5 separate regions of the Homo sapiens genome follow, and all the other regions are linked to region 5. Evidence: promoter capture Hi-C in 16 types of primary human blood cells and fetal thymus (Javierre and others, 2016). All regions are on one chromosome and are shown on one strand. The core of a region is centred on a gene start or on the middle of the fragment in contact, and the rest is flanking DNA. Distances in the headings are between cores, read along the strand shown.

What was found. The method cuts DNA at HindIII sites, captures the fragments that hold promoters and counts their contacts. A CHiCAGO score of 5 or more calls a contact.
Region 1: a contact is called between a fragment that was not itself captured here and the fragment with the promoter of CRYBB3 in region 5, in 2 of 17 cell types (M2 macrophages and M1 macrophages). The highest score is 8.2, in M2 macrophages.
Region 2: a fragment that was not itself captured here is called in contact with the fragment with the promoter of CRYBB3 in region 5 in 3 of 17 cell types (M0 macrophages, M2 macrophages and M1 macrophages); the score reaches 7.7 in M0 macrophages.
Region 3: a fragment that was not itself captured here is called in contact with the fragment with the promoter of CRYBB3 in region 5 in 1 of 17 cell types (M1 macrophages); the score reaches 5.8 in M1 macrophages.
Region 4: a fragment that was not itself captured here is called in contact with the fragment with the promoter of CRYBB3 in region 5 in 2 of 17 cell types (M0 macrophages and M2 macrophages); the score reaches 6.6 in M0 macrophages.

What each region holds. Positions count from the first base shown.
Region 1 is chr22:26,338,819-26,341,518 of GRCh38, reverse strand. It overlaps SEZ6L (seizure related 6 homolog like), which reads right to left. Exons shown (of 17, transcript NM_021115.5): 10 at 887-1,083. Among named protein-coding and RNA genes, the nearest start is that of ASPHD2, 89 kb to the left of the region's middle. The HindIII fragment of the contact is 3,843 bases long and covers 1-2,700 here.
Region 2 is chr22:26,301,695-26,304,394 of GRCh38, reverse strand. The region is part of intron 5 of SEZ6L (seizure related 6 homolog like); the gene reads right to left. Among named protein-coding and RNA genes, the nearest start is that of SEZ6L-AS1, 56 kb to the right of the region's middle. The HindIII fragment of the contact is 629 bases long and covers 1,020-1,648 here.
Region 3 is chr22:26,234,112-26,236,811 of GRCh38, reverse strand. All of the region lies in intron 1 of SEZ6L (seizure related 6 homolog like), which reads right to left. Among named protein-coding and RNA genes, the nearest start is that of SEZ6L-AS1, 11 kb to the left of the region's middle. The HindIII fragment of the contact is 3,611 bases long and covers 1-2,700 here.
Region 4 is chr22:26,321,958-26,324,657 of GRCh38, reverse strand. All of the region lies in intron 9 of SEZ6L (seizure related 6 homolog like), which reads right to left. Among named protein-coding and RNA genes, the nearest start is that of SEZ6L-AS1, 77 kb to the right of the region's middle. The HindIII fragment of the contact is 3,742 bases long and covers 1-2,700 here.
Region 5 is chr22:25,198,597-25,201,296 of GRCh38, reverse strand. It overlaps CRYBB3 (crystallin beta B3), which reads right to left and starts at 1,439. Exons shown (of 6, transcript NM_004076.5): 1 at 1,388-1,439. The HindIII fragment of the contact is 15,596 bases long and covers 1-2,700 here.

The DNA.
Region 1 (2,700 bases), core at 118-2,617, 1.1 Mb before region 5:
ATCCATGGGAACTAATGAAGGCATGGAGGGCGTGAGTCTAGCTGGAAGAGAGGATACAGTCCAGGATGGAGCCTGGGACCCTCCAGGGTTTAAAGGTTGAAAAGGGGTGGGTCGTAGAGCTAGTAATGAATGAGGGAGAGTTACAGGGTGGGGAATGAGAAGGGAAGAGTGTGATTGGATGAAAGCACACGAGGGGTCATAGGAGTGTGTGAGCTTAGCTTGAATTTGATAGCAGGTTTTTTTTTTGTTTTGTTTGTTTTAGGAGGAGCAGGAGAGACATGGTTTGGAGGCCACATTGAGGATGAGGAAAGACATCTTTTGCATCTATAGCTCCTAAAGTACAAGAAGTGCGAAAGGAAGGCTGTCCTTGTTCAACGAGGCTACAGGAAAAGAAGAGGCCTTAGAGGAGAGCTGAGCTTCAGTTCGGGCAAGAAGGTGAAGACGATGTTTGAGAAGTTGCACAAATTGGGAAGAAATTAGGAAGTATGTTGATGTAAGATCTCAGCTGACCACAAATGAAACATGGGGACAACAGGTTCTCAGCTGACCACACATGAAACATAAGTTATGAGGCATTGTCTACTACATCCTGATATCAACCTTGTGGAATAGGTATCACTATGCCCATCTTACAGATGACAAAAAGAAGGCTCAGAGAGGTTCAGTAACTTTCCCAAAGCCACACAGACATCGATGACCGTGCTAGGGCTCAAACCCTGGTCCTCATGACTAGAGAGCCCAGGCTTTTAAAAATGAAATGAGTACATTTCAATACAATACAATGAAAAATCGCTGTAGTACAAAACTGCCAAATAACCTAGAGGAAACCACCTTAACCTGTATCTAAACACAAAGAAAAAATAAATTGACCAGATGAGACACCTACCTATGTAGTTCATGATAAATCCCTGGCCCTTTCCAAAGATGAGGCCAGCAGGGTCCGAATGGAACTGGATGGTTAAGTCTGGCGTGGAGGAGTACAGTTTCTGGGGGCCACTGTTCCCAAGGTACTGCCCCAAGATGTGGGGCATGACCTCGTCGCCATCGTAGATGGTCAAGATGTCACTGTTGCTCAGATTCAGGCTTGGAGGGCAGAGAAGAGGGAGAGTCATGTGAAATAGAGAATGGGCATTCAATAAACCCTTGATTAACTTTTTCAGGCAATACAAAATTTGTTAAGTGTGTATGTGTCAGGCTCCAGGCTATGTGTCTTAACCCCAAGCTGAGGGTAAGATTGACATAGACTGCAAATGTGACACAAAGATTTGTAAGTCATTTTTTTTTTGAGACAGAGTCTCACTCTGTCACCCAGGCTAGAGTGCAGTGGCACTCTCAGCTCGCTGCAATCTCTGCCTTCCAGGTTCAAGCAATTCTCCTGTCTCAGCCTCCCGAGTAGCTGGGACTACAGGTGCATGCTGCTATGTCTGGCTAATTTTTTTTGTATTTAGTAGAGATGGGGTTTCACCGTGTTGCCCAGGCTGGTCTCCAAATCCTGAGCTCAGGCAATCTGCCCACCTCGGCCTCCCAATGTGCTAGGATTACAGGCGTGAGTCACTGTGCCCGGCCGTCAGTTGGGTTTTTGAAGACACATTGATGCAATGGTCTTGGCTGCATGGGACTCATTGCAAAGTCAAATGCTGCATTGTAAGAAGAATCACCTTCAAAACTCCCATTATTGGCAACCATTTCTTAGGTGACATCTCTGTGTTAGGCACCAGGCTACAGGCTGGGGCTATGACCTGCATCTTTCATTCTTCTTCAGTGCAGAACATGCTGACAGCTTGCTAATTACAACTTGCATTTTTATATAAGGTGAAATGATCTTTCCATTTATCACGGGGCAAATTCCTCAGAGTCAACTGAATGATCCATTATGTTTAAGGGGTAGGGCAGAGGTGGGATGGAGGCACCTTACTTATGAGATATGCTCAAACCTGTCACCATTCATACTGTTAAAGGATGACACATTTTCAAAGACTCCAATGCAAGAAAGTACCTTGACACTAAATAATTAAACCACAGTGGATAGTTAATAATCCAGAAATCACTTCACTATACCACAGAAACATGTGCCATCTCAGACATGCTAGATAAAATTGATCTCTAATTGAAAGAATGCCAGATAATTCACCTTTGGCTTCATCAATCATGGACAGATACAAACTCACATTTCTTTCTTTCCTTTCTTCTTTCCCTCTCTCTGTCTTCTTTCTCTCTCATGTCTTTCTCCTTTTCTTGTCTCCTTCTCCTTAATGTTCTTTTTTGTTTGTTTTTTTGAGCATCTACTATGAGCCAGGCACTGTGCTGAGCTCAGAAGGGTCACAGAGTAGTGATCTATTTAGATTTGTAAGCCAGGGATTGTGGCAGGAGTTATAACCAAAGTAAGGACAGAGAAAGTAAGGACAAACTCAGATTAGGGGCATCATGGAAGCATTCCTGCAGTAGGTGATGCTTCTTGCTCTGAAACCTCAAGAAAGAGTAGGAGACCTCGAGGCAGATAAACACAGAGTAGGGAGTCCAGGTGCAGTGGCTTACACCTGTAATCCCAGCACTTTTGGAGGCTGAGGTGGGAGGATTGCTTGAGGCCAGGAGTTCAAGACCATTCTGGGCAACAAAGAGAGACCCTGTCTCTACAAAAAAAAAAAAAAAAAGAAAAAAAAAAAGTCCGGGCGTGGTGGCTCACGCCTATAATCCCAGCAC
Region 2 (2,700 bases), core at 85-2,584, 1.1 Mb before region 5:
TTCTTTCTTTCTTTCTTTCTTTCTTCTTTCTTTTTTTTTTTTTGAGACAAACTCTTGCTCTGTCACCCAGGCTAGAGTGCAATGGCACGATCTCAGCTCACTGCAACCTCTGCCTCCCAGGTTCAAGTGATTCTCCTGCCTCAGCCTCCTGAGTAGCTGGGATTACAGGTGCCCACCACCGCGCCCAGCTAATTTTTGTATTTTTAGTAGAGATGGGGTTTCACCATCTTGGCCAGGCTGGTCTCGAACTCCTGACCTCGTGATCCACCTGCCTTGGCCTCCCAAAATGTAAGGATTAGAGGCATCAGCCACAGCACTCAGCCAGTTTTGAATTTTCTGAGGAGAGATGGTGGGTAGCAGATGCTTCTCACAGAGCGTGGCAGTCAGTCCAGGAGGAAGGGATGTGAAGAATAGCCCAGGGCCACGATTGAGTAAAGCCCTACACCATGACCAGGGTTTCAAGTCTTGGGAGCCATTTCTATCTTTTATGAGGATCAAAGGAGCTTGAAAAATATTTCCTTCCCAAGCACAGGACGCTTGGTTCCCCCTTCATTTTCAGAGATATAGGAGAGGAAGCAAAAGTGGGACAGGTTATTTGGAACCATCTCACAGATGGCTAAGGGGTTTGTAGGTTCCACAAAAGCTAGGACTACTTTTTGTTTGTTTGCTTTCAGTCACACTACCAGCAACCAGAAGAGCTCCTGGTATGTAGAATGTGCTCAGTAAATATTTACTGAATAACCACGATTAATTTTGCAAAAGAGGAAAAAAGAAGTTCAAAGGTATTACGCCACTTCCTCAAGGACATACACATAATAAGTGGAGCAGTTGAGACTCAAGCTCAGGCTGCCTCACTCCAGTATCTCTTATCGAAGTCACTACTCCACTGTCTGTCTTATTTATGATAACCTGCTAATCCAGAAAGGTATATGGCATATAGTAGTTGCTTTATAAAATGTTTGTTGAATGAAAGAATAAATATTTTTTCCTTTTTGTATCTCTAATATCAGCTCAAAGCTTGATACATAGCAGGTACCCATTAAATGTTTGTTGAATGACAGTATGACTGAATGGGGCTTGCAGTAGCAGAGAACGGTGGATAACTCTTATCTCTGCTCCAGACTGTGTTGTGACCTACAGCAAAGACATTGCCAAGAAGCTCCATACTTCTTTCAGGACCACAGACAGAAAGCTAGGTTCATTTCTCTCTCCAGGCTGCCCTTCTGTCCTAGAGGAGAGATTGTTCTGTGAAATAAGCCAGCCCTAGGTTGAAACCTTGCCAGTCATCTGCTGTGGATCTAAGACAAGTCACATGTTTACCCACTGTAAAATGGTGATAAGTCCACCCTCCTTATAGGACAGTAGTGAGAAATCAATGAAACGATGGGCATGGGGAGCTTCATGCCATCCCTGGCACAGAGTGGGCACTCAAAACATAGCCAGCTCTATTGCCCTGTGGCTCAGGAGCTGAGAAATGGAGGACACTGTCCCTGGTGGGGGGCTCTGGCCATCTGTCCTCCCAAGCTGCTGATCGTTTGCGGCTTCTCTGCTTCCCTTCTTTGCCTGATTAAGCCAACTGATGGCTCTGTTTGGCTTCAATTTGCCAGCCGTGGCTCCCCATCCATCTTTCTTAGCACAAATGGAAGCTTAATTCCTCCCTGATTTCACACATAGATAAAAATTAATGTGAGAGAGGCGTGAAGACCAACTGCCCTATGGTTTGGAATTTTATCTTTGTTTAAAAAAAAGAAAGAAAAATTCTGAAGGGCCTTGGGGGAACAATACTGTAACAATTGAATCTCAGAATTTATCATTAGCTCTCATTTCCTTTTTGAGCTCCACTTGGCTATGAATAACTGGAGGGCAGGAATTATGTCTCATTAGTTCCAATATTCTCTTCACACATGGCTCATAGCCTGGCACATAGTAGGTGGCAGGGCAACCTATACTCTCTCAACCACCATCAGGACTTTTGAGAATTCTAAAAGGGTTTTGCTCTCTTGATAGCTGAAGATGGCCAAGGCTGTGCCCACTGGTGCAGGGACAGTGCGTTACAAACCAGTGCTTCTCCAGGTGTAATGTGCATATGAGTCACCCAAGGGCCATGTTAAAGTGAAAATTTTGATTCATTTGGTTTTGCATGGGGCTCAGGATTATGCATTTCTAATAATTTTGCTAGTCCGAGGACCACACTTTGAGTAAGGAAGCTGTAAGGGGAGGAGCTCAGGAGAGAAGGGATCTGGACTAAGTTCGCCACTTCAAGTATGTTACTTCATCTCTCTAAGCCTCATTCTCTTTGCCTATGAAAGTGGTAATCTTATCTCCCTGAGTTCAAGTGAAATAGTAGATATTGTCCACCTTGATTTCCATGGATCCACTCTGACCATCCTCAATCATTTTTGCCAAATAGAAGTCAGAATGATCACCCTTATGCTTAAATTTTTCCAGATATCTCCTACCTAGTCCACCTGTCTTCTCATGACCTTGAGCAATACAGTTTCTGACCACTGCCCCAGCCTCCTGTCCTGATATTTTCTCTGCAGTTTAGTCAGATTGATCTTATTTATTTATTTGCTTTCTCAAACTCATCGAGTTCCTTCTGACCTCTGAACCTTAGCATGTGCTAGTGCATCTGCCTGGAATGTTTCCCCCTTCTCCCCCCCATTTTCCACCCTCAGTCTATTTCCTACTCAACTTCCA
Region 3 (2,700 bases), core at 152-2,651, 1.0 Mb before region 5:
TCAGGATGTCATCCTGCAGGTATTACTGATTGATTTTAAGCCAGAAAAACCTGACCTTTTTAGCTAGCACATTCAGCCTTAGTTTTGCTAAGTAGAATCTCCATTAGAGTTTTCAAAACACTTCGTTTCTCTCTCAGCCCCCTCCTCTCCCTGCCCATCACTCCTTTCAAAGACTATTAGAGTCAGGGGGACCCCAGATTTGAAACTGGTGGTTTAGTCTATAACCAACTTTTTGAAGGATGCTTTGGAAATAAATGTCACAACCTCAATCAATCAAGTCCACAGGCTCGGAAAGTTTGACTATCTCCTGTTTCCATACCCAGTATTTTAAAAACTTACCTTCCCAGAGAGATCGACCAAATGCATAAATAAATGGAATAAAAAATAAGACAGGGTCTGTTTTGGAGAGCCGCTGGCAATGGCTGAGCCACACTGTGAGAGTCATACATCATTCAGGCATGAGGGAGTTTCAATAATACCCAAGTTCTCAAGCAATTAGAGGGTCGGTCCCCCTCTGTTCAGCTCCAGGAGAACTAATGGGTTGGCCATGCCGAATCTCCAGAGCTGAGCCACACGTTGCACTGCCATCTGCCCTCAAACTCCAAAGGCAATTTGGGCTCAGTGGCAGGTTTAATGGCATGGGTAGATAAAACACTTTCCTGCATCCACCTGGAGGGACAGTCATGGCTGGGAAACTGGTGGACGGGAAGGAGGCTTTTGTGGGCACAGCAGCCTGAGATGCAGATTTCAAGTTGCCCGAGACAGGGGGGCAAGATCCAACCTGAAGTGCAGGGCCAAGGCCAGGCCAAGGCCAGGAGGTGCCTCTGATGTTATGAGAGCATCTTCCAAGGCCGCAAGCCCAGTGACTCATGCAGCTTCATGAAACTTCTCTGTCACTTTGCAGCCAGAGTTTTTCTTACTTGATCTGATCATATTCCTTCTTTTTCCGCTTGGAATTCTCCGATGGCTTCCCCATGGCCCTCCGGATGAAGCAGACTCTTCTCAATGACTGGAGAGTCCTCTATTCTACCCCTCTGTCCTCCTTGGAGATCCATGCTCCAGGTATGAGCTGCTATACTTCCCCAAAAGGGCAAGTTAATTCAAGCCCCTAAGCCTTTTGCTTGTCATTTTCTTGGCTTAGAATGCCTTCTCTTTCTTCCTTGGCCTAGAATGCCTTCCCTCTCTTTCACCTGGCTAATGTCTATTTATCACCTCATCCAGGGACCCTTCCTGGAATGTGTCCATATCTCAAATGCCCTCACCCTACATGCTCCCACAGCCTCGGTGCTTCCCCATCATAGCCTTGTCTCTTTGCCCCTCCAGCCAGGCAACTCTGAGGGCAGCAGCAGTGGCTGTATCTTATATAACACTGTGTTCCTAGTACCTAGCAATGTGTCTGGCCCATGGTGAATATTGAGTAAATGTTTGTTGAATTCATTAATGAAAATTAAGTAGATGAATAAATACATGGATACTCTATGACAGTGGTTCTCAACCAAGAGTGATTTTGTTCCCAGAGGGACATGTTTGCTTGGGGATATGGAGGAGGTGCTACTGGCATCCATTGAGAAGAGGCCAGGGATGCTATTAAACATCATACAATGGGCTTCCCCTTCTCCACCCTCCTGTCCCAAACCAGGGAATATCCAACCCCAAATGCCAATAGTGCCAAATTTGAGAGACTTAGCTCTATGACTAGGTCCTGTTTTCACTACTGTAGGGGATGGAAGAGAAGGCAAAGGCATATTTCCCATTCCCAGTGAACACGCAATATGGTGAGACACACAAAAGCAACATCCGAGAAAGCACTAGGAAACAGAATAAGACACTAACATTTATTGAATTCCTCCCAGTATCAGCCGTTGGGGGTATCTCTACCCTGTTGAACTCCTACTAATCTGTCAAGACTTAGCTTAAATATCACCTCTTCCAGGTAGCCTTCCCTGATACCCGAGGTCATTTCTCTCTGCTACTGCAGTTTTCATCACACTTTCCTGTAATTATTTGTATATGTGGCTGTGTCCCTTCTAGACTGAGGACAGGGGCTGTGCTCTATTTGCCTTTATTTCTCTGGTGCCTAGAGCACAGTATATAGTTTACTAAATGTTTGGGAAAATGAGCTTCAGAAATAGGCCTATTGTGGCTATCAAGCCAGCAGTTGGGTTTCCCCACCTTCTGCTGAGATGCCCAGGCATAGAGATGAGCCCCCAGCCTTATTCATGACCTCATACAGAGGAAGAATGCTGTTCTGGGCTGTCAGTACTTTGTCATTGACTTTGCTGCCAAGCCAGAGAGCAAGACGTTCGTTCTCCCAAGGAGCACGTCAACCAATGAGCTATAAATTAGAAAGGAAAAAAAAGGTCTGCTAATTCCGACCCACTCTATTTTTTACTCGCAGCTGCTAGGGAGGGAATGCACTGGCTTTCAGATGGAACATTTCTTTGGCTTAAGTTCCCCTCTCTCTGCTGGCCCCATTATTTCCTTCCCCCAAGGTCCAGCCTAGCTGGAGCCAAGAGAGCGTGGGCTTTGGGATCACACAAACCTGGGTTCCAATTCGGGCCAATCTGTCTTTCCTGGGAACTTCCCAAGATGCAGCAAGGAGCTAACGTGATGTTTCAGAATGACTCCCCTGCCCCCTCTCTTGGATCCTGACACCCCAGTTTCCACAAGGTGGTCAGGAAGTCCTCTAAAGTGTCAAGT
Region 4 (2,700 bases), core at 13-2,512, 1.1 Mb before region 5:
TTTATTTTTGTCGTGGCCATTTCTCCTGTGATTTTTGCTGATATCTGGAAATCTATTCTCCCAGGGCTAACGTTGTCCTCAACTCCTGAATCTCTCTCCTCCTTTCCTGGCTCTCAGGTAGAATTCTTACAGTCCAAAGCAGCTATATCTCTGTTTGAAGAACTGAAGTGCCTCTGGACAAGGCACTTAATTTTTAGGGCTTGGAATTAACTTAGCACAGAACAGGTTGGCAGCAGCTGAAGAGGACTGTTCTGCAGCTATCAATCATATGGTTACCTGGGTTTGTTATTAGGCCCTTTTATTTCCTGGTTAGAGAACTGTGCTGGGGCTCATAAACAGGGAGCAATGTTGGGAACTCTGCAGAGGAGCAAAGGAAGGCACGCTGGAGCCTGATTGAGACTTTTTCCCTGCAGAGATGGATGTATGTTCGCAGTAGATGTCCAGGAAACGGGGAGCAGGAAACACTTTGAGCCTCAGTTTCTTCTTCTGTAAGATGGAGCTCGGAATTTCTCTCATGTGGAGCACTTCCCTACCGTTTGTGTGTGTGTGTGTGTTTGTGTGTGTGTGTGTGTGTGTGTGTGTGTGTGTGTGTGGTTAAAAACTGGCTTTGGTCTTAGAGACCTGGGTTCAAGTCCTGACTTGGCCACATCCTAATTGTGTGACCTTGGGCAAGCAGTTTCATCTCTCTCAGCCTCAGTTTCTTCATCTGTACAAAGGAGTAGTCACACTGACGTGATGTAGATATTGCATAGGGTACTGATATTGCATTGGAGAGTGAAATGAGTTACTATAGGTAAAAAAAGCATGTAAAGACTGGCACATTGTAAGTACTCAATGAATGTCAGCTGTTGGTCTTTATCATCATCATCATCATCATCATCAATGAGATAATGTGTGCCAGTATTTAGCATAAAGTCTGGGATATAGTAGGGGTAAAAGTAGTGTTAGCTATGGTTATCTGCCTATCTTGTGTCAGAAACCTTATGTTATCTGTTATTTTAATTTTTACATTATTTAATTAATTTACACACCCACCTTCTCTGTCTCTCTCTTTTTAGAAACAGGGTCTCACTATGTTGCCCAAGCTGGTCTCAACACCTGAGCTCAGGTGATTCTCCCACCTCAGCCTCTCAAGTAGCTGGGACCACAGCTGCAAGCCACCATGCCTGGCTAATTTTTAAATTATTTGTAGAGACGGGGTCTTGCTTTGTTGCCCAGGCTGGTCTTGAACTCCTGGGCTCAAGCGATCCTCCCATCTTGGCTTCCAAAAGTGCTGGGATTACACGCATGAGCCACTGTGCCCAGCCTTACCGTCTCTTTCATTCAACAGATATTTATCAAGCACTTTCTTTGTGCCAGACACTGGGGATAAAGTGAACAAAATATCCCATTGTGGGTGCAGGCACCAGCACCTTCAATAATCTGCCTGAGGCCACAGAGCTGGTGAACATCAGGATGCACTTACATGCACCTCTTTTTGACTCTAGGCGCTTTTATGTCTCCTTGGCTGCAAGGCATCTTCAAGGTTGTGGCCCCCGTGCTGAGCTCTTGTGGCCACAAGCAAGTTGTCTTTCTGGTCCTCTCTTGCTGTGTGATACTTGCTAAGTTACCTGCCCACTTGGGGCCCCTCTCGGATCTTCTATTCTACGATGCCTTCACCAATGTTAGTTCCCTTATTCTCCTTTCCGTAATTTATTTTGAGAGTTGGGGAAGGGGTGTGGAGAGAGAATGAATGAGAGAGAGTGAGAGGAGAGCAATATGAAAAGGCCCTTAGGGTTTAAAAGTTTCTGTTCAGTTGTGTTTTTAGAGGAAGAGGCAGATTTCTGATGGAGCTGGGAGGGATACGTGGTGGGTTAGGGAGGCATTTGGGGTGTGAAGAAGGTTTAGCCTGAGGGCTCCTGACTCATCCCAAGTTGGTGCAACCTCCTTCTTTCCTCCAACACCAACAATGTGGGGCAGATGGTTGTAATTGATGCTGTGATTCAGAGCATTCATTTCATGCCTAATGGTCACTGTCATCACTGCTTGAATCCTTTGCTCACGACACTTTTCTCCCATTAACTCCGGGCAACTGGCACTCTTCAAGATTCCTTCTGGATGTCACCTTCTCAGGGATATTTCCATAATTCACGGAGATAAATCTAGTTCCCCTCTACCTCCTCAACTCACCCTCCAAGCCACAGGACTTTGCTTACATTTTGCCAGGCTGTCTGTTTATGGCTATGTGTCCCTTCCTGAACTTTGAGTCCCTACAGGCCTGGGAGCCTTCCCGTGTCGCTGCTACATTGCCGAGACACACAGCTGGTGCCCCGAAAGCTGTTCAAGTCAGTGGAAGTGGAGGCTACGGTGTGTGCTCCGTCTTTACTAGCTGTGTGACCTGAGGAAACCACGTAACCTCTCTGTGCTGTCATACCCAACCCATAAAGTGGTAATGATAATATCTGCCTTATCTGAGGATTCCTGATAATAGTAGTCTCCATTTATGAAGCACCAACTATGTGCCAGATACCATGCAATGTGCTTGGCATACATTATCTCTAATTTGGGTAATTACCCTTCTGTAATTATCTCTACCCACATTAGCTCTCATTTATGTAATTATTATCTCTGCATAATAATGTTCACATTTATTATTGCTCACGGACCTAAACGATGCAGCTCAGGGCCTGCCTAGCACATAGTAGGTTTTTAATAAATGGT
Region 5 (2,700 bases), core at 190-2,689:
ACAGAGCCTTGCTGCCCATGGGGCGTGGCTGTAACTTATGATCGACATTCAGTCATTCAGCAAACATCCATTGAGCACCTGCCATGGGCCACGTGGACTGAGACAGTGGGATCAGGAGCCCCATTGTACAGAGGGGAACTCTGAGGCTCAGCAAAGTGAGGCCACTTCCTCAAGCACACAGTGAGGAAGTGGCCTGGGTCGGGCCTGGCTCCAAAGCCCGTGCCCTTTTCCCCTGATCCAGATGCTCCCCGAAACCCAGGTTTCTCAGAGCTCTCTGCAGATGTCCCACCCCCAGAACCTGGCTAAAGGGTGGGCTTCAGGGAGTTTCCTCTACAGGGGTCTCTCCCACCTCCGTACTCCAGGAACTCTTTTGTTCACTGGTTACTTTATTCAACAAATATTCCATGAGCACCTACACAGTGCCAGGCTCTGGGCTGGGTGACCAGGAGGGACAGGAGACCCCATATGTCGGGAGGTGGACAGACAGACCTCTAGAGAAAAGGCTTGTAAGACCAGGTCGTTGGACACCTGCTCCAGGTCAGTTTCCCTGCGTTCGGTTACTCATTCCTTAAGCATTTATTGAACACGACTGTGTACCAGCCACTTCAAGACCCAGACACCGACAGTTCTTCATTGCTACAGGGACAGTGACACGCAATACAGGCCCCTGCCGCAGTCACATGGAAGGATTCTCATCATTGTTGCACCCATGGACACACACAGGACTGTTCTGTTTGTCAGCACACACACATAGGTGCACACACTCGCAAAAGTTTCTATGGTCACTATCAGTTATATTTCACCCATGGGCTCACAGGACAGCTTCTTTCTCTCTCTCTCTCTCTCTCCTCACACACACACATCCCTGCCCATTTCAGACATCCACAGTGGTAAACAAGGCACCTACATCTACACCCCACATCCAACTGTTACCCACCCACGGCTCCCAGCACGGCCACCCCAGCATGCACAGCTGCACAGCCCACATACTCTGGATGTGGGCCTAACCATGCACAGCCTGCGGGCTGTCGGTTCTGTCTCTCCTAGCCTCAGCAGGAAACAGGGCTTGGTCCAGCTCACAGGGGACTCTCGGGGGACTTGGCAGGTACCATGTGTGCCCACTCCCCTCCCTCAGAGGAGCTGTTTTGGAAGGTCCCCTGCCCTAAGCACATGTCCAGGGGCTTGGACCCTGGCCACTGCAGACAAGGGTCCCTCGTTCCACCCCCAGCTGGGCTGTCAGGGTCCTCTCACTGGGACCTGACCCTTAAGGGAGGCGCTGTTTTTCTTTGCAGGCGGTCAGCCATGCGCGTCCCACAGAAACTACAAAAGGTCCGGGCCTGCCAGGGTGGCTTTTGCCTCCCCACCCCCAACCCATCCCAGAATGAACCTGTTGCTGTAGCCTCGGGAAGAACAGAGGAGCCACGGCCGTCTGCAGACTCGCCTGTCTTCGCAAGGGGCATGCTATTTATGAGCACTTTCTGACAGCCCAGCACATCCCAGCCTGCTGAGGCAGCACCCTGTCCACCCAATTCCATCCAGGCCACTTCACTCCAATAGCGGGTCCACGGAGGCCCCCAGTGCCTGTCTCCTCAGCCACCGTCTCTGATGACTTCCTGGGGACAGATGAACCTCACTGGCTTTGTGGGAAGCCCAGCAGCGCCAGGCAAGGGGCACGGTGTGCAGCTCTCCCGTGTCTCCCCACAACCACCAACTCCCTTTCTTTGGTTTCTTGGGGTCACCATTTCCTATTGAGTCACACGCAACCTTTGGAAAAATTCTAGTTCTTAAAGTGAGGGACCCCAGACACTCTCCAGTTTCCATGTGCCATGTGGCCTAAGTTTTAAGTCAGATCACGCTAACCATACTCTCCAACTTGGGCGCAAATCCACCCAACCGTTTCCATAGGATGCCGTCACAGAACTCACAGACTGACTTTCTTCATGTAGAAGACACGCACGAATAATAGCTACCATTTCTTGAACACCTACTACACGCAAGGCATTGTGCCAGCTTCACAAGCATTGTATGGAATTCTCATCCAGCCATCCTTAGGGGAGGAATTCTGATTCCACTTTATACATGGAGAAACTGAGTTCAGAGAGGTGAACCCATTTACTCAGAATCACACAGCAGAGAGAAGGGGCTGGCCTGCTCCAGGACCTGGGATCTTAGCCTCAATAGAAATAAAAGTGACCATCACAGTCAACTTATTTATGACCAAAGAAAAAAGGTAGATCCAGGTATTTTTATTTTATTTTTTAGAGATAGGTTGTTGCTACATTGCCCAGGCTGGACTCAAACTCCTGGGCTCAAGCAATCCTTTCTCCTCAGTGTCCTGAATAACCGGAACTACAGGCACGTGCCACTGCACCCAGCTTCCAGGAATTTTTTAAGTGTCTAACAAAGTATAATTTTGCCTGTAATCAATATCTAATAAGTGATTATTTTATGAATAAAATTATATTGGAGCAAAGGAGTGAGTTAACAAGGTTTTCTTTTGTTGTTGTTGGTATTTGTTTTTGGCTAAAATCCTCAAGTCAGCATAAAACCCAGTTACAGGCCGGGCGCGGTGGCTCACGCCTGTAATCCCAACACTCTGGGAGGCCGAGGCAGGCGGATCACGAAGTCAGGAGCTCGAGACCATCCTGGCTAACACGGTGAAACCCTGTCTCTACTAAAAACACAAAAAATTAGCCAGGT